Linked DNA regions of Homo sapiens: all the other regions are linked to region 1. Evidence: promoter capture Hi-C in 16 types of primary human blood cells and fetal thymus (Javierre and others, 2016). All regions are on one chromosome and are shown on one strand. Each heading gives the region's core, a stretch centred on a gene start or on the middle of the fragment in contact. The rest is flanking DNA. Distances are from core to core; before and after follow the strand shown. Region 1 holds the start of MEF2C (myocyte enhancer factor 2C). Region 2 overlaps CETN3 (centrin 3). Region 3 holds the start of CCNH (cyclin H). Region 4 overlaps LINC01339 (long intergenic non-protein coding RNA 1339). Region 5 overlaps LINC01339 (long intergenic non-protein coding RNA 1339). Region 6 overlaps LINC01339 (long intergenic non-protein coding RNA 1339). Region 7 has its middle 7.0 kb from the start of MIR3660.

Evidence for each region. Contacts are between HindIII fragments. The CHiCAGO score rates a contact against its expected background, and 5 or more counts as called.
Region 2: a contact is called between a fragment that was not itself captured here and the fragment with the promoter of MEF2C in region 1, in 1 of 17 cell types (endothelial precursors). The highest score is 5.2, in endothelial precursors.
Region 3: the fragment with the promoter of CCNH here is called in contact with the fragment with the promoter of MEF2C in region 1 in 1 of 17 cell types (M2 macrophages); the score reaches 6.0 in M2 macrophages.
Region 4: a fragment that was not itself captured here is called in contact with the fragment with the promoter of MEF2C in region 1 in 6 of 17 cell types (naive B cells, M0 macrophages, M2 macrophages and 3 more); the score reaches 14.9 in naive B cells.
Region 5: a fragment that was not itself captured here is called in contact with the fragment with the promoter of MEF2C in region 1 in 2 of 17 cell types (naive B cells and total B cells); the score reaches 5.9 in naive B cells.
Region 6: a contact is called between a fragment that was not itself captured here and the fragment with the promoter of MEF2C in region 1, in 6 of 17 cell types (naive B cells, M0 macrophages, total B cells and 3 more). The highest score is 14.0, in naive B cells.
Region 7: a contact is called between a fragment that was not itself captured here and the fragment with the promoter of MEF2C in region 1, in 3 of 17 cell types (monocytes, M0 macrophages and M1 macrophages). The highest score is 6.3, in monocytes.

What each region holds. Positions count from the first base shown.
Region 1 is chr5:88,881,551-88,885,420 of GRCh38, forward strand. MEF2C (myocyte enhancer factor 2C) reads right to left here and starts at 1,634. Exons shown (of 11, transcript NM_002397.5): 1 at 1,405-1,634. It overlaps MEF2C-AS1 (MEF2C antisense RNA 1), which reads left to right and starts at 1,780. Exons shown (of 10, transcript NR_136219.1): 1 at 1,780-1,935. RefSeq lists an enhancer at 2,692-2,741. The HindIII fragment of the contact is 10,727 bases long and covers 1-3,870 here.
Region 2 is chr5:90,394,266-90,398,135 of GRCh38, forward strand. All of the region lies in intron 4 of CETN3 (centrin 3), which reads right to left. Among named protein-coding and RNA genes, the nearest start is that of CETN3, 14 kb to the right of the region's middle. The HindIII fragment of the contact is 2,858 bases long and covers 247-3,104 here.
Region 3 is chr5:87,411,060-87,414,929 of GRCh38, forward strand. CCNH (cyclin H) reads right to left here and starts at 1,871. Exons shown (of 9, transcript NM_001239.4): 1 at 1,619-1,871; 2 at 165-287. The coding sequence starts at 1,735. It overlaps LOC105379066 (a long non-coding RNA gene), which reads left to right and starts at 1,923. Exons shown (of 3, transcript XR_948543.1): 1 at 1,923-2,002. RefSeq lists enhancers at 1,498-1,627, 1,658-1,827. The HindIII fragment of the contact is 6,680 bases long and covers 632-3,870 here.
Region 4 is chr5:90,268,083-90,271,952 of GRCh38, forward strand. The region is part of intron 1 of LINC01339 (long intergenic non-protein coding RNA 1339); the gene reads right to left. Among named protein-coding and RNA genes, the nearest start is that of LINC01339, 20 kb to the right of the region's middle. The HindIII fragment of the contact is 8,813 bases long and covers 1-3,870 here.
Region 5 is chr5:90,250,418-90,254,287 of GRCh38, forward strand. The region is part of intron 3 of LINC01339 (long intergenic non-protein coding RNA 1339); the gene reads right to left. Among named protein-coding and RNA genes, the nearest start is that of LINC01339, 38 kb to the right of the region's middle. The HindIII fragment of the contact is 231 bases long and covers 1,755-1,985 here.
Region 6 is chr5:90,182,239-90,186,108 of GRCh38, forward strand. All of the region lies in intron 4 of LINC01339 (long intergenic non-protein coding RNA 1339), which reads right to left. Among named protein-coding and RNA genes, the nearest start is that of LINC01339, 110 kb to the right of the region's middle. The HindIII fragment of the contact is 1,577 bases long and covers 1,287-2,863 here.
Region 7 is chr5:90,021,778-90,025,647 of GRCh38, forward strand. No RefSeq gene overlaps it. Among named protein-coding and RNA genes, the nearest start is that of MIR3660, 7.0 kb to the left of the region's middle. The HindIII fragment of the contact is 623 bases long and covers 1,913-2,535 here.

The DNA of each region.
Region 1 (3,870 bases), core at 384-2,883:
TGATCTATTTAAAGCTAAAATTGGTATGCAATACGAGGTTAAACGGGGTTCACAGGTGGTCACATTTCCATGTCCTACCAAGTCTCTAGGGATTGGAGTTATTATACTCCACATAAACATCTTTACTCTGCAACCACAATTCCATTGCAAGGTGCCAGTGAAAGTAGGCTAGTCGCTTTTTTTTTTTTTGGACTGGTATAATGAGGTGGCTGGAGTTTCCTTTATAGCACTTAGAAATTATATGCAGTCCCCAAGCATTTCATAAGACAGTTACTATTAGAGTTAGTTTCAGATTCACAATAGTAAAACGCACTTTGTGTCAAAGCAATTCTCCACTGAGGACCGGTTAAGGAACTGGCAGAGAGCCCAATTCTACTTAGTCTACTGTCAGCATTTACATATAAAGTATTTTATACAAAAGACACGCATTCCTAAAATGTGACAAAAAAAGGCTCTCCCCAAAGAATGATAACTACTGGACTTAGAATAGTCAGAAGTGATTCAGATATAAAATTTCCTTTAAAAAGCAATAGCCATGTTCAGGGAAGGAAGGTAACATTAGCATTAAATTTAAATACTTCCACAATATTTAATAATAAAATAAACAATGTGCCACATCTATATATACTTCCTTTGTGACAAACTTTATCATCGAGTTTGGTAACTTTCATTCCAAGTCCAAAGAGAAGGCAATTTAAGTGACTTAACCTTGCTTGCTTTTAAACAGCTATGTATTTGACTTGACCTGAACAGCAATCCATATGCTGAAATCGAACGTGAATTGTGAAATGTGTAGACTACTATGGCAGGGATATTACTTTTTGTCCACACCAATTAAGAAGCCCTCTGTCAAGCCGGCACTTTGGTGAGGGAAGGAAATGCACAAAGGTATACTCTGACAGACAGCCATGCTTTAGGTCAAACTAATCCCAAGAATTAGTGGCTCAGAAGCATAACCCAGGGCAAATCAGTGTCTTTGGGGGGACTCATGGGAGCATCTTTCCACAGTGAACTAACTGCTAAATCTTAAGGCGTCTACTTCAAGGTCACAGAACATGCTGTGAAATATTAAAATCCACCAGGCTCCACACGCTCCACCATATCAAACATGCTAATGACGTGAACTAACTTCATGAAACTTTAAATACACTGGTGTGACAGGAACGAGTCAGGAGTGATTTCAATAGCTGATGGCAAACGGATACGACTATCTAAAAAGTTACTTTTAGCAACAAACAAGGAAATCATGGAATCTAACGAAAAAGAATGCACAACGAGCCTCAACTTCAGCCTTCAAAAAAGGCACAGGGATAGATAGACACAGTGCCGTGGAATATATTGATGCAGATTTTAGAGACAATACCCGGGTTTTCTATTTCCTCGAGAAATATCAGGGGTACTTACATGAAGGAAGACCCGATCAGATTAGTCCTTGGGATATTTTCCTTTCTTAAGAGAGAGAGAGAGAGAAAAAAAAAATAACAACAATAATCTTTACTTCGTCCAGCGTTGAAGTGCTTCTCCACCTGATTCAAACATGCAGCCACGGCGACCCACACAGAACCTTCAAAGTCAATCCAATAGCAGCCCGAAGATGTCTGGGTGTACGCGTGTGCTCAAGTGTCTGTGACTGCGAGCAGAGCGAGCAGAGAGCTGGAGACGATGTGTGCGTGTGTGCGCGCGCGCGAGGGGAGCGCGCGCGAGGGGGGGGGCGCGGGGCCGCGCATTCGCGCGCGCCGAGGCCGCTCGGAAGAGGAGGAGGAGGAGGAAGAAGGAGGAGGAAGAGAAGGAGGAGGAGGAGGAGGAGGAGAAAGTGGCTCTCAGCGGCCGGTCGGATTAAAAGTAACCAGACTCGTCCAGAAAACTGCGTCCAGGAAGGAAGTGACAGAAGACGAATGGGAAAAGGAGAACAGCTCACAGCGTTTGAAACATCGCGTAAAAAAGACTGGGGGTGGTGGGGGCGGGGGGGATTGAAGGATACTGGGAGGGGAGGCGGGGGTGGTAGGGAAGACGGAGCACGAATGGTTGGGGTTCTAAGCAGCACGTCCGATGAAATGTCTTTTGCCTCCTTTTTTCCCCCTTTATTTAATTTTGTCCTTGCCTTTGCTTCGCGCTGCCTTTTTCTCTCCGTCTCTCTCTCCCCCACAATCCCAAACCGTTGACTCTTTCCTCGCGAGCTGGAGAAATCATCAGTTTCACTCTTGCAAAAGGGGGGCGGGACTAGACCTCGGAGCATTTTAATAAAACAAACATACAGCAGCTCCCTCCTCACCCCTCCAGTCTCAACTAGATTGATAAATTACTCCACTACACTACTTTAATTATGTATATGGTATGCAGAATAAATCACTGAACATCAGTACCTCAATCAAGCACTTTTAAATGATAATTGCATCTTGGTGAATCAATCTTTCCATTCCTGACATTTTGCTAATTTTAGTTTTACGGTGGGGTAATAGCACATGCCATACGCAAACCTAATGACAATTCTTTATTGCACGAAATGAAGACAACACGGCGAGCTGCGGCTCCCTGCTCCTCTCGCGGCGCCTCTGCGGAGGACGCTCGGAGAGAACCTAGTCTCCCGCTGCGGCGCGCTCGCTTGCTCTCCGGGGACGCTGCGAGCCAGCCAGCAGGAAAGTCCTTCTAAAGTCGGGATCTTTCCTCTGACCAATAGGAGCGCGACCCTAATAGTTGCTCTTGTGACTTTTCCCCCTTTTGGACACGCGTTAGCCACTTCTCTCTTCCACCGGTCGGTGCGCTCCTCCGTTACTCACGCGTAAAAACCACGGTCCAGGATGTCTGCAGCACTCGATTCCAGCGTGCTTTTCCTGCACGCCCAGAAGTCGCGGTTTTCACCCTGAGAGGTTGGAGCGCTAGAAAGCGAGCCGAAAGGTTTCTCTAATGTTAGTAATGTACGAAATAATAAAATAATTACCAGTATTTGAGATCTCGACTTCATCGCGGGGCCATGAACTTTCTAATCAGTTTGGAAATATTTACCGAGGAAGCAGCTTCCTCGGAGTTCCCCCCCTCCCCCCACTCTATCTTTTCCACACCTTACTGGACTTCATCCAGGTCATTAACATGTAAACCAAACCAACTTCCCAAATGCATTAGGCTACCCTAGCCGATAGCTGATGACTTCACTTATCCTGAAGAGTTTCAGCTGCACAGGAAGCAGAAATAGAGACTGATAAGGGAGGATACTTATGTTAAGGTTAAAGCATGATAAACACTTTTCCTTACAAAAAAAAAAAAAAAAGGCTTTAATATTTAGGCTACTAGAGATTGGGCACCTCCCGCCCTAACCAACTGTTAATATATACCATGCCCAATAAAGCCAAAGATAAAATACATCAACTAGTATAGAATCATGAAAAGACAAGATTGCATGCCAGTAGAATTATAGATTACATAAAATGTTTAAACCAAACTATTTTTTAAAAAATATTGTGAAAGCAAGAAGGGAAAATTAATAGAACATGGAATATATGAGATTAGACAATAGTATATTGAAATATCTAGCTAACTAAAGATTTCCTCACTTTAGAAAATTCCTTTTAGCACTACGTTTAACCCAATGACTAGTTGTATTTCCTGTTAAGTTCAGCAATATGCCTCCAGATGACTATTTTAATATATGAGGACAGTATGGTTCAAAAAGCCTCCTGCTTCAATGTAGGAGGTATTTGATGTGAGTAGCTTCTCTCAGAAGAGTGGCCTCAACATTTAGGCAACTGTCCCAAGGCTTCACTTGAAAGGGGAAGGTTTATTTTATAGGCAAGTACAACTAGATCTGAACAATCTTCAAGTTCCAGCTCATCATTGTGACTATCAGCAAAACTAAGACCATTCCCTCCCTTTTAT
Region 2 (3,870 bases), core at 426-2,925, 1.5 Mb after region 1:
TGGAACATGTTTATTAAATGTAACTTCTTGGATGCAAAAATACATATAATGTGATAAACATTACAAATTAGTATTCTATAATATTAACTGGGGAAAAGATAATGTTACCAAAAAAGTCAATCACAGTCATATTTGTACATACTTGCTAAAACATTTTAAATGCTTGACATTTCAAGGTTCTTTAAACAACCCTCTTTATAATCTTTATTCTACTAGTTCATTTAGCAAATCCTTCCTTTACAAGTAAGCTTGAACATATCATGCATGTAAATTAGATTTCTAAAGAATGAAAATATAATAAAATTATAAAAAGAAGTTAAATTATTATTTTTTGAACTTTTATATACTTAAAAGCCTATGTTAAAGAATAATTAAAACCAGGTCACCATACCTCAAAGGTATCAATAAAAATGGCAATTTGAAAAGATTACAGATGTAATCTTAATCACCAAAGTAATCCAGTAACTATATAGATGTAAAGGCAGAAAATAATCATGGATAAGGACTAATTTTTAGTTTGCCAAAATTATAAATATAGTAAGAATCTCCAATTTATAAAACATAATGTTTAAGACAGCAACCTAGAAATAAGAAATCAGATAATCTTATAGAATATAATTTTGAAAACCCGACATATGCGCACGTATCAATTAAGAAAAATGTTCAGAAGATACTTCTGGTAAGTATTTAGCATTTAGCCCTAAGACTTAATACATACCTAAACAATGCATAAATTATGAATGATAATTTTGATAATGCCAAAAGAAAACTACACTGAGACTTAAGACCTGGTCTCTAGTCACAGCTCTGCACAGAACAGCTCTGCATCTCATTTCCTTCATCTGAAAACACTGAACTATGAGATGATGTTTTAGATTGTTTAACTCTTATTTACCATAGAAGGTATTATATGAAAATACTCCATTGAATCAAACATTTTTAAGTGGCTAGTGAATGCCAACACCACAATAAGTGTTGCGTAATATATCAAAACAGACACCAGGCTTCCTATTCTGGAATACATTAAAACCGAAATGAGAAAGATATTATATGATATTATAAAATTATTGTTAACTTTCTTAAGTGTAACATTGGTATCATAGCTTTATGAAAGATATATCCTTGTTCTTAGTAGATGGATATGCTAAAATATTAAAGGATCAAGTTTTTGTTTTATTATTAAAATTTAATTAATTAATTAATTAATTTAGAGACCGGGTTATGAGACTGGCTAATCGTTGTATTTTTGGTAGAGATTAGGTTTCACCATGTTGCCAAGGCTGGTCTTGAACTCCTGGGCTCAAGCAATCCACCTGCCTCAGCCTCCCAAAGTGCTGGGATTACAGGCATGGGCCATGGTGCCTGGCCTAAAGACTGAGTTCTTGATATATGAAATTTATTTTCAAATGATTGAGAAAAAAATATACACACGACAGGTAAAGCAAATGCGGTAAAATACTAATTACTAAATCTAGGCAGAAGGTACAATGGTGTTCATTGTACTAGTCTGACAATTTTTCTGTTTGAGAATATTCATAATGAACAGTTAGAAAAAATTAACCAATTAAAAAATGTTGAGGAGATAAAACATGGTCATAGGGAATGAAAAGAATATATACTGCACTGGTTCTAGAAACCACATAGAAAACCGGTTTTGATAACTATGTTAGTCAGTTTTTATACTTGAAACAGAACAAATGTTTTATAACACAAAATACTATTTATTATTAAAACAAAGACCAAATCAGTGTTGAAAAAAAATCCTTCACAATGGTAAAAATTATTACTAATAAGAAAAATTTAGGTAAAGGTAAATCATTACTTGGGCTCTAAAATAAAAATACAGAATTTGGAAAGGAAGTAGAAAGAGAGCTGGGGTGGGAGAATACCATCAGAAATACAGTCAAAGAAAGAATAGTGTATGCCTCACAGAAATAAGCTATGAGTTAGGAAAAATGCACCCTCCAGAAGCTGACAGGGAACTATGAAGCCATGCAATCAGTATTTAACATCTACAAAACACTATGACAAACATGGTAAGAACGTAATACAAAATCTGTAATACTCCAAACTACTTTCAAGAATCTTACAAATTGATGTAGTGATCTTTAACCTTTGCAGTTAAATAGCCATGTCTGAATATCTTAGGAAAGCTATGATCCCTCTCTCTTTCCAATAAATACAGTTCAAATATATAAAATTATTAATCAGTTTAGCCAGTGTGCACCTTCACTGAAGAACTCCCGATTTAGACTGAGGCATCTAGACCAAATAGGAAGCAAGAGTATGTTCTTAAGAACTGTATTAAGAGAAAAAACATAAAACAGCCTTAGAATGATTTGATTACAAATCATTTTAACAGTGTAATACATCCATGATTAAAATATTCAAAATCCAAAAAGTACTTGTTACTTAAAGATCTAGAACTTTTTCTTGATCTGTAAAATTTCAATACTCAAACTGCAAATTTTAAGTTTCATATATAAGTTTGAAAACCACAAAACACTTAATTTTTATATTGTTTATATACAAAAACTTTAAACTATAATAGCATTTCAAAAGTATTTAAAATACGGTCAGCCTTCTGTAACCACAGGTTCCTCACATCTGCAGATTCAACCAACTGCAGATGAAAAATATTTGGGAAAATAACACAATAAAAAATAATACAAATAAAATAAAGTATAACAATTTACATAGCATTTACATTGTATTAGGTATTATAAGTAATCTAGAGATGATTTAACGTATACAAGAGGATATGTGAAAGTTATATGAAAATACTATGCCATTTTATACAAGGGACTTGAGCACCATAGATTCTGGCATCCTTAAGCGACTTGGAACCAATCCCCTGTGCTTATCAAGGGACAACTGAATTCCATGATTCATACCTAAAAACACACTACTTAAACCCAAGAAAGTAAAAATTAGAAAGTGGCTCAGGAAATTAAACTAGCTACTTTACTTTAATTGTCTTGTAGACAATTAAAAGACAATCTTCTATATCTCTGTGCATTTGATTTTATAACCTTCTCTATTAACAATATCTTATATCAAGTTCCTATATCTAATAAATCTACCACAATGCCTAGCTTAAAATAAGCTTTGGTAAAACATTTATTGAATCAAGAAAATATGACACTTTGTTTCCTTTTATACTGCCTTCTTTAACAAAATTTTTCATACATCAACCATTTCATAGAGCAAATCTTATTACAAGTTGCTAACAATAAGAATTTTACAGAACTAAGTAGATTAAGTACCTTAGAGACCATCTGGCTTTGAAGGGGAAAAGCAAATCTTAGAATTGGAAGTTCCAACTGAGTATGTTGCTAATACACTGCTTCCTATAATAGCATGTAATTTTTAAAACTCCATAAACATAGAAGTCTAGTTAATATTTTACTTCATAGCCCGAAAGGCAATACAATATTACGTTTAAAAGCACATTCTTTGCCATTTTGGAGATTTGATTTTGAGTTCTGGCTCTACCATGTACAGTATTAGCTTTGTGATAACCTGGGCAGATTAATAATCTCTCAAAGCTTTAGCTTCCTCATCTCTATATATGCATCTATTATACACATGTATAGGTATAATACTATATCTACTTTACAAGTTATTATGGAAATTAAGTGACATAATTAATGCTAATATCCAATATAGTAGCTGCTAAATAAATGTTAAAAAACATCATCATTATTTAAAAGATTATCCATTCTGGCTTTTCAAAACGTTCCTTTCATTTTTTCCAAAAGATGTGCTGTGTTTTATTTTATATATGCTGTTGAGGGGGCAGGGGGAAGTGACTCTTTCTGTATCATTACCACAGCTTTATGTCTATCTTGTAGTACATCTTATTTACCT
Region 3 (3,870 bases), core at 621-3,120, 1.5 Mb before region 1:
AACTCATGATTTAAGGCCTGTATTGAAAAATATATAATGTGCCAAAAACTAATTAATTGTAACTAAGGTGAATTTTTAAGACTTGAGTGGACAGGGAATTTAGAAGAGGTCAAATTTCACAAGCCAACTAAAGGACATTATATTTCATCACCACTGTAACTTACCACAACAGATCTTGGCATTGCTGGCTTAAACACCGAACAGAATTCCAATAACCTTTTCTCATAGTATTTGCAGAGTGTCATTTCTTCATGAGGCTCAAGAAAGACTGGATCATTCGGAAGAACCTTTAGATCAACAATTACAACACAAGTTCAATGAATTCAATGAATTAAACAATTGTAAAACATTTTTCTCTATCTAGATTAAATTTAGTTTATATATCCAACGAAGGGTATATATCACGCCTCATTTTCTTTATAGATTCGCTAATCATTACACAAAATAGCTGTAGGAAAATATTTAATAAACTAAAACTGTACCATCATTTCACGACTTTTCGGAATGTCAGCTAGACCTTTGCTTCATTAAAGTATAAACAATCATGACAGGCTGTGTGCACATGCTCACAGTTGTGATATCATTATTTATAAATTAAAAAGTAGACAGACTTTTTAAAATATGATTGGAAAGCTTCCAACATCCGTTTCTCGGTCAGTCATTACGTCACAAGTTGTAAAAAAACAGCAAATGTTTCAATAAATTTCTGTTATTTTAAGCTACCCAGTTTGTGGTGATTTTTTTAAGGCAGCCCTTAGGAAACTAATTCAGGTGCTAAAATCAGTGATATGAAATAGATGTGAATTAAAGGTAGAAAGTAAAGTAACTCAGTATCGGTAATTTGGAGGCACTGAACACTTGCTGGAGTGGAGCTTGCAGGAAAGATTAAACCAGTCCGAGAGCTGTAACAGAAGGAACTTGGCTAGCGGGCCATAGTCCAAACCATCTTCAGTCACTTGGTTTGTACTTGGTCTCTGGTCTCCCTCCCTCATCCAACCCATTCACCACGAGGTTGCTAGAGCGCTGTTTCCAGAACGGAAATCTGATAAGGTTAGCTTCCCATTTTAAATATTTCAAAGGTTCCTCATCCTTTCAGTGGAAATGTTAAACGCCTCACTTCCACTTACAAGTTCCCTTCCTACCCTCCCCAGCCATTCCTGCACAGGTACTCAACTTCGGCCACATACGACCACAAACACGTCCACGCACCATCTCTGTAACTTCTGACCTCCCTCCCACTCTGAACGGTGGTTCTGACTGCCTGGAACTTCCTTTCCCATTTTCTCCGCATTGGCTACTGGGAAAAACCTTCCCCAACATCATCTCTTGACAAGTGAACGGCTCTTGCCACGCACTACCTTAGCACACTACTTACTCTCTTCTTCACTACGTTACAAAGACTGGTTACTTGTCTGCCATTCGACGACGGGGATGGCGTTGTTCGTCTTTGTACCCACGGAACCTGGCAAGGTGCTCGCTTATTTTGATAGAAAAACGCACTCCGCGCCGCAGAGGCAGAGAAACGACGGAGCGAGATTGTCCTGGGAGCCAGAAGAGCTCCCGCAGCTGCTCAGAATTTAGTGACCGGGCAACTGGGCAACCGTTGGGAAAACCTCACCTTCCCGTTGGCCACGGCTTTGCATCTGAATTTGCGGTTGGCGTCAGCCCGCAGTCTTGCCAGCTGCTCCTCGCTGGAGAAGGTCCAGTGCCGCTTCTGACTACTGTTGTGGTACATTATGGAATCGTGACCAGGTCCAGAGGGTCTGCAGACGAGAACCCAAACGCATCAGCGTCCTGGCGTAAAACACCCGTACCCCCACCGAAGATCTCGCGGAAGCCTAGGGCGTCCGGCTAGCCGGCGCTGGCGCGCTGTCGTCACGATTACGCGGCCAGCCCGTACGCAGTTGCATTTCCGGAGCGGACTAGGAACAGACCGTATCCCGGGTTCGTTAGGGCGCCCACTGAGACGTAAGTGGGCGGAGCCTAGAGAACGCTCCTCTCGGTGAGTCTGGGACATAGCTCCGCCCCTTCCAGGCAAGATTTAAAGGAGAAGCGCCCGGCAAGAGTGTTCAAGGGGCATAAACTGAGGGTACGGAGTAGGCAGATGTAAATTCACAGGGGATAATCAGAAATGAGGAAAGGATTTCGTAGGGTGCTCATTTTTAAATAGAGGCCTCACTGAAGTTGACATTTGTGAAAAGGCTTGAAAGAGTTGAAATAGTAGGTTGATCAATCATGTAGGGAGATCACGGGGCCCAGAAAGAATAGGTAAGATCTTCAGGCAGAAGCATTCCTAGCCCTTTTCAGGAAGAGTTTGGAGACCAGTATTCTTGAAGCACTACCAGAAATCTCGGAGAATGGAACATGGCTGAAAAACTTGAAGCAGTGGATGCGTATTGGCCCTTACAGTTCTGCCACTTTTGTTGCCTTGTCTGTTCTTTCTCTGTGCTTTTTTTCCTTACCCTTCTGTTGATAACTAGCCAATCCTCTCCCTCTGTTTTCATCTCTGAAGCCAGGATGTATGGTAGTATTCGTTTTATTGAGATTCCCATTTTCATTGCCTCTAGGGAGCCTTACAGTAAGCTATCATGAAAATTAAGGTATTTACTATTTTTTAAATTAATAGGACTTTCAAAATTGCAGGTGAGGTTCAAAATTTACATGGATTCTGGTTTGTCCCATTTAGGCATACCTTATTCTCTCATGTATTTATTATATATCCAATCCGAAAAATGGATTTCCCTATGGCAAATAGCTTTTCTAAAAAATAAATAAATAAATAAAAAGAAAGAGAAAGATGATGAGACCTAGAGAATTTAGGTCTTGAAAAGCCCACACAGGTAAAAAGAAGAAGTGGCAGGATGACTTTAACTCTGCTTTCTATTAAAATGTTTTTAGGGGCTTAAGAAAGGGAAAGCCTTTTCTTTTTCATTTTTGTTGGGTACAGCTGAGGTTAGAGTTTGCCACAGTTATCTGAATTCCTCAAACTTATGCCATTTGTGGTATATAATTTTGGAGAGCCACACACTCAACATATGTGGCTAACCTGGTCTCATAAATTGGCTAAGAAAAGAGAGAAAAAGAGAAGATCAAAGGGCATGGCAAATTGATTACAATGAATTGTGAACAACCTAAAATGTTGCATGTTGGGGAAAGAATAATTTAAAAGAGAAAAACATAATGGTACAAAAGATAGGAAAATAAGTGATCTAGATAATTAAATGTCTATATAAAGTCTTAGCCTCATGACTGTTATATATATCATATAAATTCTTTTCATTTTGTTTTTCTGAAAGATATTTGACAACTCCTTAGTTTTATGTAAAGGATAATAAAAATAGGCATTTAAAAGAGTTGGCAGACTGTGATTTCCACAGAGATATGAGTAAAATTTCTGAATGTCATTTAGGAAAAATATATGAAAAACCTGGCATTGCTGGTGTAATTTTTTTTAAACCTTGAACAAATTTTAGTCCATGAAAATTGACATTGATCTTATTTTTCAGATGTAGTAGGAATTGGGCTCTGTCTAAATTAACTGTCTGAGGAATACAATTGTTGCTGATGCCCTAACATTAAGGCTCATGTATGGTTTTTCTTACTAAGGTAAGCAGACTGGATGCTGTGACAGTCTCCTACTCAGCCTGTTGTGCGACAGTGTTTCTTTGCTATTGCTACCACAGGAGGCACACTGGAATGCAGAACTTGTGCCTTTACCTATTTCCATTTCTAGTTTCAACTAAAAAGTAGCAAGTGTTTCTCTTCACTTCTATTATTTTTACTTATTTATTTATGGAGAATTTCAAATATAAAGAATACAGAGAAACATATTTCAAAAATTATCAATACATGGCCAGTTCCCTTCTACCC
Region 4 (3,870 bases), core at 887-3,386, 1.4 Mb after region 1:
TCTTGTGTTTTTTCTCCCATTTTTATTGAAGTACAGTATAATTACTTCTTTTTACATAAGACTTTAAGGTAAATTATCTTTTGTCAGTTTTCTAGAAAAATTTGATTTCATATTATGGCTTGATCTCAATTGATGCTATCAATTAAATGGCATTTTTCCTGAACATTAAGGGTGACTTCCCCTAAGTAACATCCCTGTTTTGGGTTTTTTTTGCTAAGTTATTACATTAAAATCTGATTCAATATATTATTTAAACTTTCACAGAAAATAATCTTTTCATTTAAAAATAATTTTCAAATATAAATGGTTTCCAAGCAGATTTTACTGTGCTTTTGCCTTATACTTATTTTTCTACCATTATCCCTGTTTTTCAGAAAAGCCAACCCAATCACAGAAAAACTAACATAGGTTTTGCTGTGATTGCAGGTGCATCCAGTGTGTTCCTGGGCTTACTTCATGCCTAAACCAACATTTTGTGTTCACTGTTATTTCTTCTAGGCCCTCCATTAATAGCCTCCTAATCCCAACATCTTTTGCCATTCTAGGCGCTTCCTTTCTCATTTCTTTTTCAGGTTCTGCCTACGAAAACCCTTTAATGGCTTGACATTTCTGAATTATAGCAAAAAAAATGTATTTCGCTCTGTGTAAATTAAACTGAATTATTTAGTGTTTTAATCATAATTTTTAAAAAATTATGAGTGGCAAACAGGGAATTAGTTTGTTCAGAACAAAAGCCTATGATAACATCATTCTTTTTTCAGGACAATAGAATACTATTTATTAAAAACAAACAAAAAAAAAACCCTAAATTCTGTCCTTTAAAAACAGTGTTAAGTGTGATCAAATATTGTGACTCAGAGGTTACCTGACAAAAAAAAACGTAATATTAATGTAAACAGCTAAAAACTAACCTCCTGTGAATACTAAAGCAAATAAATTATAATCTATTATTTCAGGTTTTCTGTTCTACAACTGCATTTTTATTTATACCTTTTCATTTCAAATGTATGTGCATAAAGTATTTTTATCCCTCAGTAAAAATAAAGCTAGATATTTTCTGGTAAACAGGTAAAACAGCAACTCTGTTTTACCTGTTTCTAAAATCTTCTCTCTGATGTTTTCATCACGGGTATCTTACATAGACTCTAGAAATGCAAAGGCAATACAAATGGTACGTAAGAACCTCCATTAATCTTTGTTTCAAGGAGAATGTGAACATTCTCTGTACAATTTAATATTCCGTGTCCACCCACAAAATTCTACAGAGAAGTGTGTGTGTGTGTGTGTGTGTGTGTGTGTGTGTGTGAGAGAGAGAGAGAGAGAGGGAGAGAATCGGTAAGTTTGATTTTAGTAGGAAATTAGTAAAATATGCATATTACAAATAAAGAGAGTACAAGTCCCCATCTGCCATTTATAGTAAGATTTTATATTTCAGAGCTTAATAATGAACCTCCCTGGGGAAAATTTAATAAAGCAGGTTCCCTGGTATTGCCAGCAGTTGGGTTTTTCTGCATCTCTTATTTTCTTACTCCCCAGGGGGAAAAAAATCTCAGTAAGATTTGTGAGCCTGTATCGAAGATAAATCTAGTGTAGTCTGGACTATACACCACCCAAACTGATCCAGATCTCCCACCCAACCCACTGTTCGTTACTGTTTATAAAGTGCAACATGCCCTGTGAAATGATAGGTTGGAGCATTCTCTATCTGTCCTTACCACAAGAAGTACAAAACCAGTTTAGAGTAACTGGAAATTGCAGTTTCAAATTTAAAGAAACACCAGTTATGTATAGGGTGGGTTAGGGATGGGGGTAGTTCTTAACTGTTCTTTTCTCCTACAGAACACTGAGCGTCTAAAACATGTTCAATCCTGTTAATGCTTGTCAAAAATTTCACAGTTCAGCTTTGTTCAGATTTTTTACTGACTATGAAAAATCAATTTGGTGGGATTCAGATTCATAAAGATGGAAGAGCTGCAAGAGACCTTAAATAACCTTGTTCTACCAAGTCTATAGGTAAAAACTGAGTCCCAAGGAAATTAAGGGACTTGCTCAAGGTTTCACATGTCCAGATTGGAACTCAAGTCTGCAGGCGTCCAGTCTATCATCCTTCCCACTGCTCATTTCATCTATTATTATACTTTAGTAATTAAACAATTTAGAGAAGCTATACAATGTGATTTCACAATTAACATAAAGCAGTCATATTATATCCAGGGTTGTGTAGAATTTCATCTGTGCAAAATTTCACTTGGTATTTAGTCATTACACTCAAATAGTATCATTATCTTTCAATTACAGAGATCAATTTTAGTTCATTAGCAAAATAAAATGCTTGCAGAAGGTCCACACAAATTCTTCAAAGCTGCAATCTTCTAAATGTCAGAATTGAAACACATTTTATAAAAAAAAACAAAATGTGACAAAAGTACTTGAGGTTAAACCACAGCTGTGCAAGACTCAGTGCCCTGCGTGATCATAAATCTGCTAAAAAGGCATAATTCAAAGTTCTGTAAAGGAAAATGTGTGCCATTGCCAACTAATAATATTGCCATTTTCCCCATTTCTTGGATTTTGCAGCTTTTCAAGAAAGATTTGGGTCATAGGATATTGTGACACAAATAAAGTATTATGAGTACAGATTCAACCTAAGATGACCTAGAGGCTGCATAAAGGGAAGATTAGATTAATGTTTAAGCCTTGCAAGAGGATTACTATCTATAGGCAAAAACAATGGCCCAAACAATATAGCTATTAGAAATGATGGTAACCTTATCAGGCTTTCTAAACTGAGAGCCTTAATTGCTATCCAGACAAACCCCAGTCAGCTAAACAGAGCTACCAGCAAAGGGGCAATATTATCAAGTTTAAGTTGATGCTAATATCCTTTTGATAAATCTGTGTTGATATAACTTGGGAGAAGTTATTTACAAAATATATATAAAGTTGTTGCTCCTTAATATGTTTAATTATTGTGAGGTTATCATACTAGAGTTTCTAAGATTATATCGATATTTCAGGTTTAACTTGTTAGAATATGTAAACCAAAACTACAGCCTTTGTTTTTCCAACATATTTTTATACTGTTGTACTTTTTTCTAAAGAAGGAAGTGATGATTTGCTCATACTATGATGTGGCCACACTGATATCACAGCTAATGATCCTTGTGGCACAAATTAAGTTTGCAATAAATGAGATTCTTTTTCTACTAATATGATCAGAAATTTAATACCCAAAAAGATGAAAGGTTTTCAATTTTACCTTTGTACATAACCCTTTTCAACATAAGTAAACTCTTCATAAATTTTGTTATGAAATTTAAATAATACATAGTCTTCTTTGTGATTACTTGTTTCATGGAACCCAAACCCTAAAATTCTCAATTACTAGAAATTCAAGAAGTTTATCATGTTAAACAGTTTACTAATACAGTAGAAAGATTAGAAATATCATTTTGTGCCATACCAACCAAGGGTAGTGGTATTCAGCGAGCCTGGATGGTAAGTAAAGCAGGCAAGCAAGTAAATAGAAATTAGGGGTGCACTGAGAGTTGTCCCATAAACATAAGTGAAGGCTAGGGAATAAGTCAAGAGAACAGAAATGGCCTTTCTTAAAAAATGGATCATGTTAGGCACAGTGGTTCATGCCTGTAATCCCAATGCTTTGGAGACTGAGGCAGGAGGATCACTTGAAGCCATGAGTTCAAGACCAGCCTGGGCAACATAGCAAGACCCTGTCTCTACAAAAAAAAATTTAATTAGCCAGGCATGGTGTTGCACACCTATAGTCCTAGCTAATAGGGAGGTTGAGATGAGATCACTTGAGCCCATGAGTTTCAGGGCTGCAGTGAGCTATATGATCATGCCACTGTA
Region 5 (3,870 bases), core at 620-3,119, 1.4 Mb after region 1:
GGGGGTTAAGTCTTTTCTTTCTCTCTTTTTTTTTCTTGGCTGATGATTATTGGTTCCCCATAGAAAAAAAAAGTTACCCACCACTCTGAGTAGTTCCTTTGCTAAAGCAGTAAATTGTATGACATAATCACCAATGTTTTAAAAGGACATGCAATTTATCCGAAGAAGTTAGTTGATTGAAGATGTGAATTAATGTACAGAAAATTAGTCTTTTGGATGGTTCACTCAATCAGAGAGAGTTACAAAGTTGTAGAGGCAAAATGATTTCATTGACAAGTCAAAGATATTATCTCCATTTCTTCTAACTGGTTATTTTTTAAGAGAAAAAAAACTGATTTTGATCACACACGTACGTATGGGAGTTCACAAAAAAATGTAACTCAAAGGAGCAGTTAGAATTGGAACTTAAATACTATCTTATTAGATGAAGAAGGAGAGGGATAAGGGAATTATGGGAAAACAAATGACTCTTATGAAATCGAAATAGAGACTAGATTGGAAGATATGATAGTTTTTGTGATTGTGTCTCCTTGGGTGTAGTTTGGAGACATTGTCTTTGGTAATCAGAGTCAATCTTCCTCAGTTGTTCCAGGGGTGAGGATTTATGACAATTGAGGTATTTTGGGAAGCTCTACTTTTAGGCAGATAAAGAGATTTCAAGAACTCAAATGCCTTCAACTCAAAATAATTTTTATGCCTTATTGTTGTAGTCTGGACCCCTTCTCTAGGGTATTCATAGTACTTGCACTTCCTCCTTCCCAGGTGTAAGGAACATGATATTACCAATATAGTGGGCCAACATCATACTCTGCTCAATAATAGGATGATCAAGGACTCTTCAGACCATGACACAAAGCAGAAAAGGTAACTTAGTCCTTGAGTAAGACCTTGAATGTGAACCGCTGCCTGCGCCAAGGGAATACTCTGCTCCTTCTTCCGGATGAAAAGAATGCATTTGCCAAATAATAGCTACATAAAACTGCCAAAGACTAAGTTGATCTCTTCTAGTAAAGATTCCATATCACCCACAGCAGTTGAGATCAGCATTACCTCATGCTTAAGTGATGTTAGACCACTAACATTTGACACAATCCATCTGATTTTTGCAAAGACCTAACTGGTAAATTAAATGAAACTGTGATAGAGACCATCACCTTTAAGTCTCTGAGAGTGACACACTCTTCACCATTCTGCCTAGGATGTGGTACTACTTCCTATTTACCATCTTGGTTGGGCTTGAGGCAGTTTTAAGGACTTTCAGTTGTCCTCTCTTACCATAATGGCTCTTTGTTCATCGTCTAGAGCCTAATGTGGGTTTCTGTCAGTTACCAAGAATATTCATCTTGACTGTAGGTCAGAAAAATGACCACAGACTGGGTTTGTGGACCCACTGCAACCAGTGTGAAACAATTTGGGCCAGGACTTCATTTATCACCCAGCATTTGTATACCTCCACTCTATCAGGAGAGCCATAACCGTGTCTGAGCTGCCCTGGTGTCAGCGTTGGCTCAGATCTTGTATTTAACAGCACTCAAAAGCTCTGGCAGGTCACCCTTTTCTCAGGGTACAGTTGCTCTCACAAATTTTAGGATTGGATTGGAGGAAATTACACTGAATATACCAAAGGAAGAAATATACTTTTCTCAGGACCCAGGATCCCCTTCAGTTGATGGGCTTCAGTATGAGACATGGCTCCGTTCTAGAAACTGGGTGAAGGGTTATTATTTTCCATTGATATTAGCTCTGTTCACCCAAGCTTAATTTAATTTTGTGTGTAAGTGAAGCTATACTATTATTGCCTGCCTATCTACCTCACTCCCAAGAACAACATGGTCTATTAGCCATACCCATAGACCCCATAGACTTGAACATGTCATAAGATAATATTGCAACAAATTCAGTTCAAAGGTCTCAATTCGCTTTTATTTGTGATTCTAGAATTCTATTTTATAGAATGAGGTGTTCTCATGAGCTGAAGAGAGGAAAGCTTGACTTTATAGGCAGAAAGGGGCTGAGAAAAGCAGAAATAGAGAATAAAAAGCAAATTGGTCAATATGAAGTGGCTTTCCTTCTAAAAATTAAAGCAAAGAGGGCTTCCTTATCATGCCTGCTAAAACTGGCTTGTTACAGGGATTTGGCTATTGTTTCTCCTGATTTCTTGGAAGGCCAGATAGATGACTTAATTTTGACTTGATAACATAGAGTCTCAGCATTGGAAACTCTATGTTGGTTTGTTCTGTTGGGCCTAATGCAGGAGCTCAGTTCAGACTCATGACCTCTCATAAATTTTATTTAACAAACCTGAGCTAAAACCATAAAACCCCTACATGAAAACATGTAAATAAATCTTTGTAACCTTGTGTTAGGCAATGGCTCATTAAAATGAAAAAACTTTGGATAAATTAAATTTAATGGAGTTTAATTGAGCAAAGAACAATTCTCAAATAGAGCAGCCACCAGATTTGGAATAGGTTCACAGTGACACCAGGGCTGCCACATGGTCAGATAATATTTATAGACAGAAATGGGAAAGTGATATACAGAAAACAGAAGTGAAGTACAGAAACAACTGGATTGGTTACAACTCAGCATTTTCTTTATTTGACCTTGCTTTGAACAGTTGGCTGCCTGTGATTGGCTGAGACTATGTGATTGTACAACAGTAAGTAAGTTACAGTCATTTACACATCCAGTTAGATTACAGTTTACTATGTATGCAGAAACCTTTAGGCTGAACTTAAAATAGGTACAGAGATAGTTTTATGTTAAACTTAATTTGACAATTATCCTGTTTTGGTCAACATCTCAATTTTGCAGGATTGACTAAAACGTTAGGCATTGACATCACTTTGTCACCTTTGTAAATTGACTTATTTGGTCTCAAATCCCACTGGGAAATAGACAGAATTGTCAGTTTTGCAAGGTGGGAACAAGGAAACAGAACAATAGAAAAAAACTGATTGGTAACTTCAGGTTACTTTCTTGTAAGTGTTAGAACGGAGGAGACTTTCATATTATTATGGAGTCTCCTGCTTTTAGGAAGACCTACATGGTATTTTGAGATCTATATGCTTCCTTAAAGTTTCAGTTTGTTTACACTGCATTTAGCATGAGAGACTCCATTTTTGTTTGGTCTGGTCTATTGGGGCCTAGTGCAGGAGCTCAATCCAGAAAAATGGCCTCCCATAATTTTGTTTAACAATTCCTCTCTTTTGGTCACATTCTCACCTGAGAACGTGACCAAAACTTAAGGCTTTAGTGCTACTCTCAGTTACCATTTTGGGGAGCTGCCAGTCTCAATAAATCATTCACAGGCCACAGTGTCCTCATGGTCATGCATTTCTTTGAGTTTTTGTTATTCTGGTCAAAGAGAGACCATTTGACACTCTACGGATGGCTGCATGCAAACATTTAAAACATTTGAGAGAATACGGCACACCAGGGAGACTACTGTTATGACCACCAGGAGGATAATACCAAGACCAGCTGGTTATATTTTAAATAAATGTTTTCAAAAACATCTCTAATGTGCTTTTGTTATCCCCTATGCCTCACACCACTTCTTTAAAGATATTCATTAAATAATTAGAATGGTATTATTTCATGTTTGTATGGAGTATTACAGTTTACAAGATATTTTCATATTATAACATCTTACAATCACCACAAGTCCACAAGGCATGTAGGGGAATTATTTTTTATATGAATATTATAGATTAGGAAATTCAGACTCAGAATATATGACATCCCAATCATTTATATAGTTATGACTGGCAGAGCTAATATTCAAGGCAGGATCTCCCAACTCCAAGTTTAATGTGTTCCTCCTACACCACAGGACTTCTTTAGTTAGAACAACCCAACAAGGGG
Region 6 (3,870 bases), core at 825-3,324, 1.3 Mb after region 1:
GCTTTAATACACCTATCCATATACCTCCTACTATATTTATGAAACTTTAAAGGGCAGAGACCAGATTTTTGTTCATCCTTTCATGTCCCTTTATGATACCTTACACATAAATGTTCAGTTCTTGTTAGCTGAATTGAATTGACCTCTCTTGCTCAGAAATCTCCGGTTATACCCACATGCCTATACCATCAAGTCTAACATCAGAATCTTGCTGTCTTTTGTGGCTGCATACTGCCCATTCAATTTTATTTCCTACTTGACCCCAATACAAATGCACCAATACAGCTTTATCAGTGATTCTCAGCACCAGCTGCACATTAGAATTCCCTGGAGAGCTTTTTAAAAATGCCATTACCCAAGTCCCTCTACCAAAGATTTTTATATAATTGGTCAAAGATGAGGCCTAGGCATCTGTACTTTTTAAAAGCATTTGGGATGATTCTAATGGCAACCATGGTTAAGAAATACTGAGCTACTGTATTTGCTTCACTTTTTCCTGAGAGCAATTTATTCACCCTCGACAACATTTTCATGCTCTTCTACCTAGCCATTTTAGTAAAACTCACACACCTCTATATTTGTGCAGGATCTGGTTCAGGCTCACCTCTTTCAGGAAGCCTTCCCTCACTACCCCTATCTACTCTGATCTCTCATAGTCTTATATTTTATTGACTTACTATTTCACAATTTCTAGTGGCAGTGCTTGACTTGCCAGTACAAATGCCTGCAGGGCAGGAAGTCTTGTCTGAGAAACTCAATAAATATGCTGAACTTTCAATTATCACTTTGGTTTGATCACATTTCAAGATGAACACTTTATACAAAATAAAGTAAAAATAATAAAACTCAGTGTATAAATATATGCTGATTATATTTCCATAACTGTGTAGAGAGCCCAAATCCTGGAGTCAAACATACCTGAATTTGAATCCCAGCTCCAGCACTAGTTAGTTGTGTGACCTTGGGCAAGTTACTTAATCTTTCTAAGTCTCAGTTTTCTGATATTTAAAAAGTGAGTAATAGCAGTACCTACCCTCATTAAATTGTTGTGAATATTAAATGAAATAAGGTATGTAAAATCTTTAGCAAAACATCTGGTACATATTAAGCAATCAGTTCATAAATATAATTATTTATTATTTGAGTGAGGGTTTTACACCTAACTCCTTTTAAATCCACACTTTCTTGAAAAAAGCATCTATCTTTTATATATTTTCTCAAAAGCAAAGATAAGCGATCCTTTGTGCTTTATTGCTATATCTAACAAGATTATTTCACCATACCAAAGCTTAACTGTGTTACTATTACGTTAGAATGTTCGTTATACACAATACTCTAAGTAATTTCAGTGCTTATGGATATATCATTACATTATATGAAGTTACTGACAATTTACAGGTTTAATTTAGTGACTAAATAGTAGGAAATTCTGATTAAGAATTCGCCAGAGGGGAGAAATCTAATTGAAGGGGAGTGAAGTCCATACCATGGACCATTTAGCTGAATTAAACCCAGCTTCCAAGGGATGGTACAGGGAATGATTAGAATGCTACAGCTCTGGTTACTACAAACATTGAGTGGATTACCAACCAATCTACATCTCTACATTTTCGCACTCACCACCCATGACTTCAGAGCATTTCAATAATGAAACTCTATAGGGAGAAAAACTGTTTAGATGTTTTTCCTTCACCTATTGTAATCTCACAGTCAGCTATCTAACATACACAGAAGCTGCCCGCAGATGACACCACTGAGAAATACAGAGAAAAGGAAGCATGAAGGAAAGAAGGAGGAAGGCAAAGGGGCAAGGGGAAAAGATCACACATTGCAAGTCATATGATTATAAAAATCAATGAAAATTCATTATAAAATAACTGGAAAATGTTTAGGTTTTTTTACTTTGCTCTCAACCCTACTCTTCAAGATGCTTTATTGTTTTGCCATTTAGAAAGTGCTTAGAGAGTTCTACAACAGAAGTACTTCACTGTTTTATTAAAGATTATGTTTAAATGTGCAAGGAACAATTTACAGAAAAATCCACATTCTCTTTGGCTCATAGGATTCAGCCCTAGCTGTTAAAGGCTCAATAAACTGTTATTGCTTCACATTACTGAATAGATGCAACTGTGAAAAAAAATATAACAAGTTCACATTCTCATTCATTCTTCACATTTCTCCCGCCTTCCTTCTCATCTCCTTCTAGAGCTTTATCCTTTCTTCTTTCCTTCACCCAATGTCATTCCTTTCGCTCTGTACCAAAATACACACTAACATTCTTTAAACAGTGTTGTTAGATCAAAGTGCTAGTTTTCATCCTGAAGTGTATAGGTTTCTGCTGTGTTTAGCAAGTTAAAAAAAAAAAAAAAAAAGCAACTCTGACAGTTTTAGATTATCAGTTTCACATGCTTGGTACAAGTGAGGAAACTTGAGATGCAAAATCAGTAGAATGTATACAAACTGCATTTATTTTTTTCATCAAAGCACACACTGAAGTGTTTGGCTTATTGCCTAAAACTCAATTATCAGATTTTTTTAATTTTAAGAACCTCATCTTTGAACATAGAAATCACAAATATTTCACTCTTCTAAGTTTTGGGGCTTTGCTTAGCAAATTGAAGTCAAAAACAGAAGTAGTAGTGTCTGCTGTTTCTGCCGAATGATTAGTACAGGCGGAAGGGTTATAGAGGTTAAACAAGGAAATCGTTTGTTTCTGCCTACACAAAGGATTATGAGAACACTTTTCAATGTAAACACACTTGAGATGCTGAGGTATGTTGTGAAGAGTTAAGCTGTGAGTCCTGTGTGAATTTACTTGTTTGTCTGACAAACGAAAACATTTCAAAGGTTATCTATGCCTGGAAGCTTATGCCAGGCAGAGAGACCTTCACTTCTTTTTAACGTGGGTTTGGGATACTGGGGTGATAATAATATGTATTGTGAATGAAGTGCAGATAGGAAAAAAAGAGTGAAGCAGATAAAAATGGGGCTTTTTTTCCTACTTGTACAAATTGATCATTGCTTGCTTCTCCAAAGGCCAAAATATCTTAACTACTGGGAAGCCATTGAAATTATTTCCCAGTATTGTGAGTTGACACAGGAGAATAGAAGGTCCTCTTTATTTAAAAACTTATTTTGCACCCAAAATAATCCCATCAGGCCTTCAGTATTTGGTGGCAGGGTTTCGGTCTTCGAAGAGGAATACACAAATTAGAATTGTTTGGGAACCCACTCACCACAAACTGACCAGTTAACTTTTGTGGAATCAACATTAGTGCTAGCATAGCAACACCTACTGGTTAATTTATGAAGTAAAGTTGAAGCCAACATGGCCAGAAATCAGTTCCTCCATCTTTTTTTTTTTTTTTTTTTTGAGACGGTGTCTGGCTCTGTCGCCCAGGCTGGAGTGCAGTGGCACGATCTTGGCTCGCTACAACCTCCGCCTCCTGGGTTCAAGCGATTCTCCTGCCTCAGCCTCCATAGTACTTGGGACTACAGGTGCGCGCCACCACCACTCCCAGCTAATTTTCGTATTTTCAGTAGAGACGGGGTTTTTCACCATATTGGTCCTGACCTCTTGATCCACCAGCCTTGGCCTCCCAAAGTGATGGGATTACAGGTGTGAGCCACCACGCCTGGCCCAGTTCCTCCATCTTAATTAGAAAAATTAAAGCATGTTTTTTACCTATGACGTCTAAAATTTTACCCATTTTAGATATATAAATGAGTATAAAAATGACTGTTTTCAAATTAAAGAATGGGAAAGAAAACTGTAGTTGTGAAAGAAAAATAACTATGTTTAGGGTGCTACTAAGGCAATTATTACACTTCTCAGTAATTGGAAGTTGCCATTCAGCCTTCTAAAAATTA
Region 7 (3,870 bases), core at 974-3,473, 1.1 Mb after region 1:
ATACATTTTAGTTTCAAATTCAATTACAAAGATATTAAGACTAAAAAATATATTTACCTGTGGAGTAGCCCAATTAGCTGAATTAACCTGTAATATTAAATTTGAAATGATTATATTTTTCTTCAAAAATCACATATGTAAATAAAAATACATTAAAAATAATAAATAAGTCCAAAGTTTAAATGCTTTTATATGTATTTTTTTCAGATGGTAAATATAGTGAACTGCTTTCTCTGTAAATGTTCCTCCTCTATCCATCATGTCAGAAAGATCCACTATACTCTTTCTCATAGACTCTCACATTTATGGATTCTCAAGAACAATTTCACTTTCACTGGAATTAAAGCAAGTATGTTCTTTTTCCTGATGGCCAAATCCCAAGAGATTTAGTTAAATTGAAGTTGGGCAAAGGTACTAAGTCTCAAGAGCACTTATTGGGAATCTGTGGGTGTGTCTTGTCACCAGGGTTACAGTAAAACATGTTTCCAAGCTTGGAGGTAAGCAAAAGTGGCTCTAAAAACAATTATAAGTTTTAAACTTGCTTTAATGTGGTAACCAAAAAGAGTAAGGCTACTTTAACGTATTTTTATTTGAATTTAACAATTGCCCACATTTTTCTGTACTTTTTTCAAATCATATTTTCAAGAAATAAAGCAATGAAGATAAATTTAAAGTCCTTCATATCTACCTCCACCCCACTTTCACTCTTTTCCTCCCTAAAGGCAAACTTCAGAAACTAAATAAATATTCAGCCTCACCAGTAACCAGGGAAGTACAAATTAAAACCATGAGATACCATTTCACATGCATCAGATTGCCCAGCATTTATAAAGCCTGACAATGTCAGGCTCTGGTGAGTCTGTGAGAAAACAGGGATCCTCTATCCATATGATGGGAATATAAACTTGGAACTATCACTTTGGGGATAAATTTGCCAGTATCTTGTAAATGTAGAATGTGTTTACTCAATGGCAGGGCAATTCCACAGATAGATTGAGAAAATATTCTTTCCTTCTTCTGGGCATATAGAAGGATTAAACTCCTAGTCCCCATGTCTTTGGGTGGGACTAGTTCTAGCCAATAATTTACAGTCAAACAATGTTGTCATGTGTTGCTGGATATGTAATTGCCAGTGTAAGACTCTCAAGCTCCATCTTGCCTTGTGAAGATGATCTTGGAAGCATATGCTAATGTGTAGGGGACACAAAATCAAGTCAGCCTCAGAATGCTGAGCCACATACATGGTCAGGAGCTGTCCTCAAGGATCATCTGAACCTGTTAACAGATTTTATGTGAGAAAGATAAAAAATTTCTCTTGTGTTAGGCCACTGAGGTTTGGAGGTTGCTTCCTATGGCAGCAAAACTAGCTTATCCCAGCAAATACATAAATTTACACACCAGACAAAAATTCTTACTCATATACACAAGAAGACACAGGCACAAATGCATCCTTTATAATAAAAGAAAATTGAAGAATGTTTCAGTTTATGAGTAGTGCAGTTAATTGTGGTATACTTTTATGTTTTCAACCAAAAACATAAAATAATTTATGTGTATATGGATTAATCCTGAAACAAATTTTTGAGACAAACAAGTTGACATATGATATGCACAATACAGTAATGCTAGAAAATAAGCTCTATTAGCACAGGATATTGTTTCAGTAACTACCATATTCCCACTGTTTAGAACAGTTCCTGGCAGGTGACAGCAATAACTCAATAAATATCTTTTAAGTGAATAAATTATTATTTTGCAATGTTTAGAAATGTAGTATATACTATATAATACCTAGGGATCATATATGTAATAAACATTTATGAAACATGCTGGAACTTCATTTTATTAGTTCATTTTAAGTCCCACAGAGTAATTATAAGGGTAACTCCATTGACTTGTAAACCCCAAATTAAGCTTTCCTTGTATTAGGACATTCTGATTTGACATTTGCTGTTGACATTACTTCAGAGCCAGTCTCCTCACTAGTAAAGGACTGAAACAGTATCTACTGCACAATATTCTTGTGAGGATGAAATTAGATGGTATGATCAGAGTGCTCAGAACAGAGAGTAGCATAAGTAGGCAATCAATAACTATTAGCAACTATTATTGTTGTTGTTGTTGCTGTTGTTGTTATGGCTACCATTATTTCTTATCTGGCTTTAAACTATAGATCACTTTATTTTATACTTTTTTAGTATTTGCATAATGATGTAAAATACCTGCAGGAATTAACGAATCAAATGTCCTCTTATATTGCCAGCTTCTTGGCGATATACTAGGTTTGTAAGTAAACTATTTCAACATCTAAACTTTTATACTAACAAGGAGTTCAATATTATACCTAAATTTGTGAAACTAAAATATAGAAGAAAAAAAAACTAACCAGGTTTAGGAGAGAAGTTTGAGATGTTGGCCTCCTTTTTTCTGAAGTTTCTCAATTGTATTTCCTACTATAAAGCCAGATTGAAAAAATGATTGTGAATGTGTATGTGTGTGTGTTATACCAAATAGATATTGCCATTAGCTATTTGAAGCTTACAGGTTAAATTATAATTGAGTATGTAGAAGTTCAAAATTCAAAGCTATTTTCTCCACTGATGAGAGTGAACTTTTGTTTGGGATTGTACCCTTAAGAGCAGCAAATGAAAAAATTAATGGCCCTCTAATTAAAAAAAATCAAAAGATAATAGATGTTGGCATGGATGTGACGAAAAAAGAACTCTTTTACACTGCTGGTAGGAATGTAAACTAGTACAACCACTATGGCAAACAGTATGGAGATTCCTTAAAGAACTAAAAGTACAACTACCATTCGATTCAGCAATCTCACTACTGGGAATCTACCCAAAGGAAAAGAAGTCATTATACAAAAAAGACACATGCACACGCGTGTTTATAGCAGCACAATTCCCATTTGCAAAAATATGGAACCAATTTAAATGCCCATCAACCAACAAGTGGATAAAGATAATGTGGTATATATACACCATGGAATACTACTCAGCCGTAAAATGGAATGAAATAATGTCTTTTGCAGCAACTTGGATGTTGGAGGCCATTACTCTAAGTGAAGTAACTCAGGAGTGCAAAAACCAAACATAATATGTTTTCATTTATAAGTACAGATAAGATATGCTGATGCAAAGGCAAAAGAATAATATAATGAACTTTGGGTACTCAGGGGGAAAGATGGGATGGGGGCTAAGGGATAAAAGACTACATATTGGATACAGTGTACACTGTTTGTGTGACAGGTACACCAAAATCTCAGAAATCACCGCTAAAGAACGTATCCCTGTAACCAAAAACTACCTGTTCCCTAAAAACTATTGAAATAAAATAAAATGATTTAAAAAAATTAATGGCCCTCATTGTCCTTACCAAACTTTCTGAGCCCTGGAATGCCACCTAAATAGAATTCCTTTCACTAACCCTTCACAGTCTTTGTATTTCTCACTGACAATCACTTAGAATTCTAATATACAGATAAATTACACTGGCCAGATTTAATCTTTTTTAATTTTAATAAGATTAAATGTGAATTCCTACATTGCCTTTTAAAAAAGATGCAAACATTGGTAGACATCTGCTCACCATATATTTAACTTCTCTTTAGACAGTGTTCATTTTGGAGACACACATTTGTGAGAAAGTGATAGTGGGTGTCCAAAACAAGCATCAATTTACAACATCCTACTTTAAATGGACATGATGGTTTTACTGTTTCACATGGAACAACTTTTTTGACTACTCTGTCTGTGCCTGAAGGAAATATAAATTATAAAAAAGGCTGAGTGACTCCCAAAAATCAGGCAAAGTTTACCTTATTGCCAAAGTTTAGCATGAAAACAAGTCACATAAATGCAT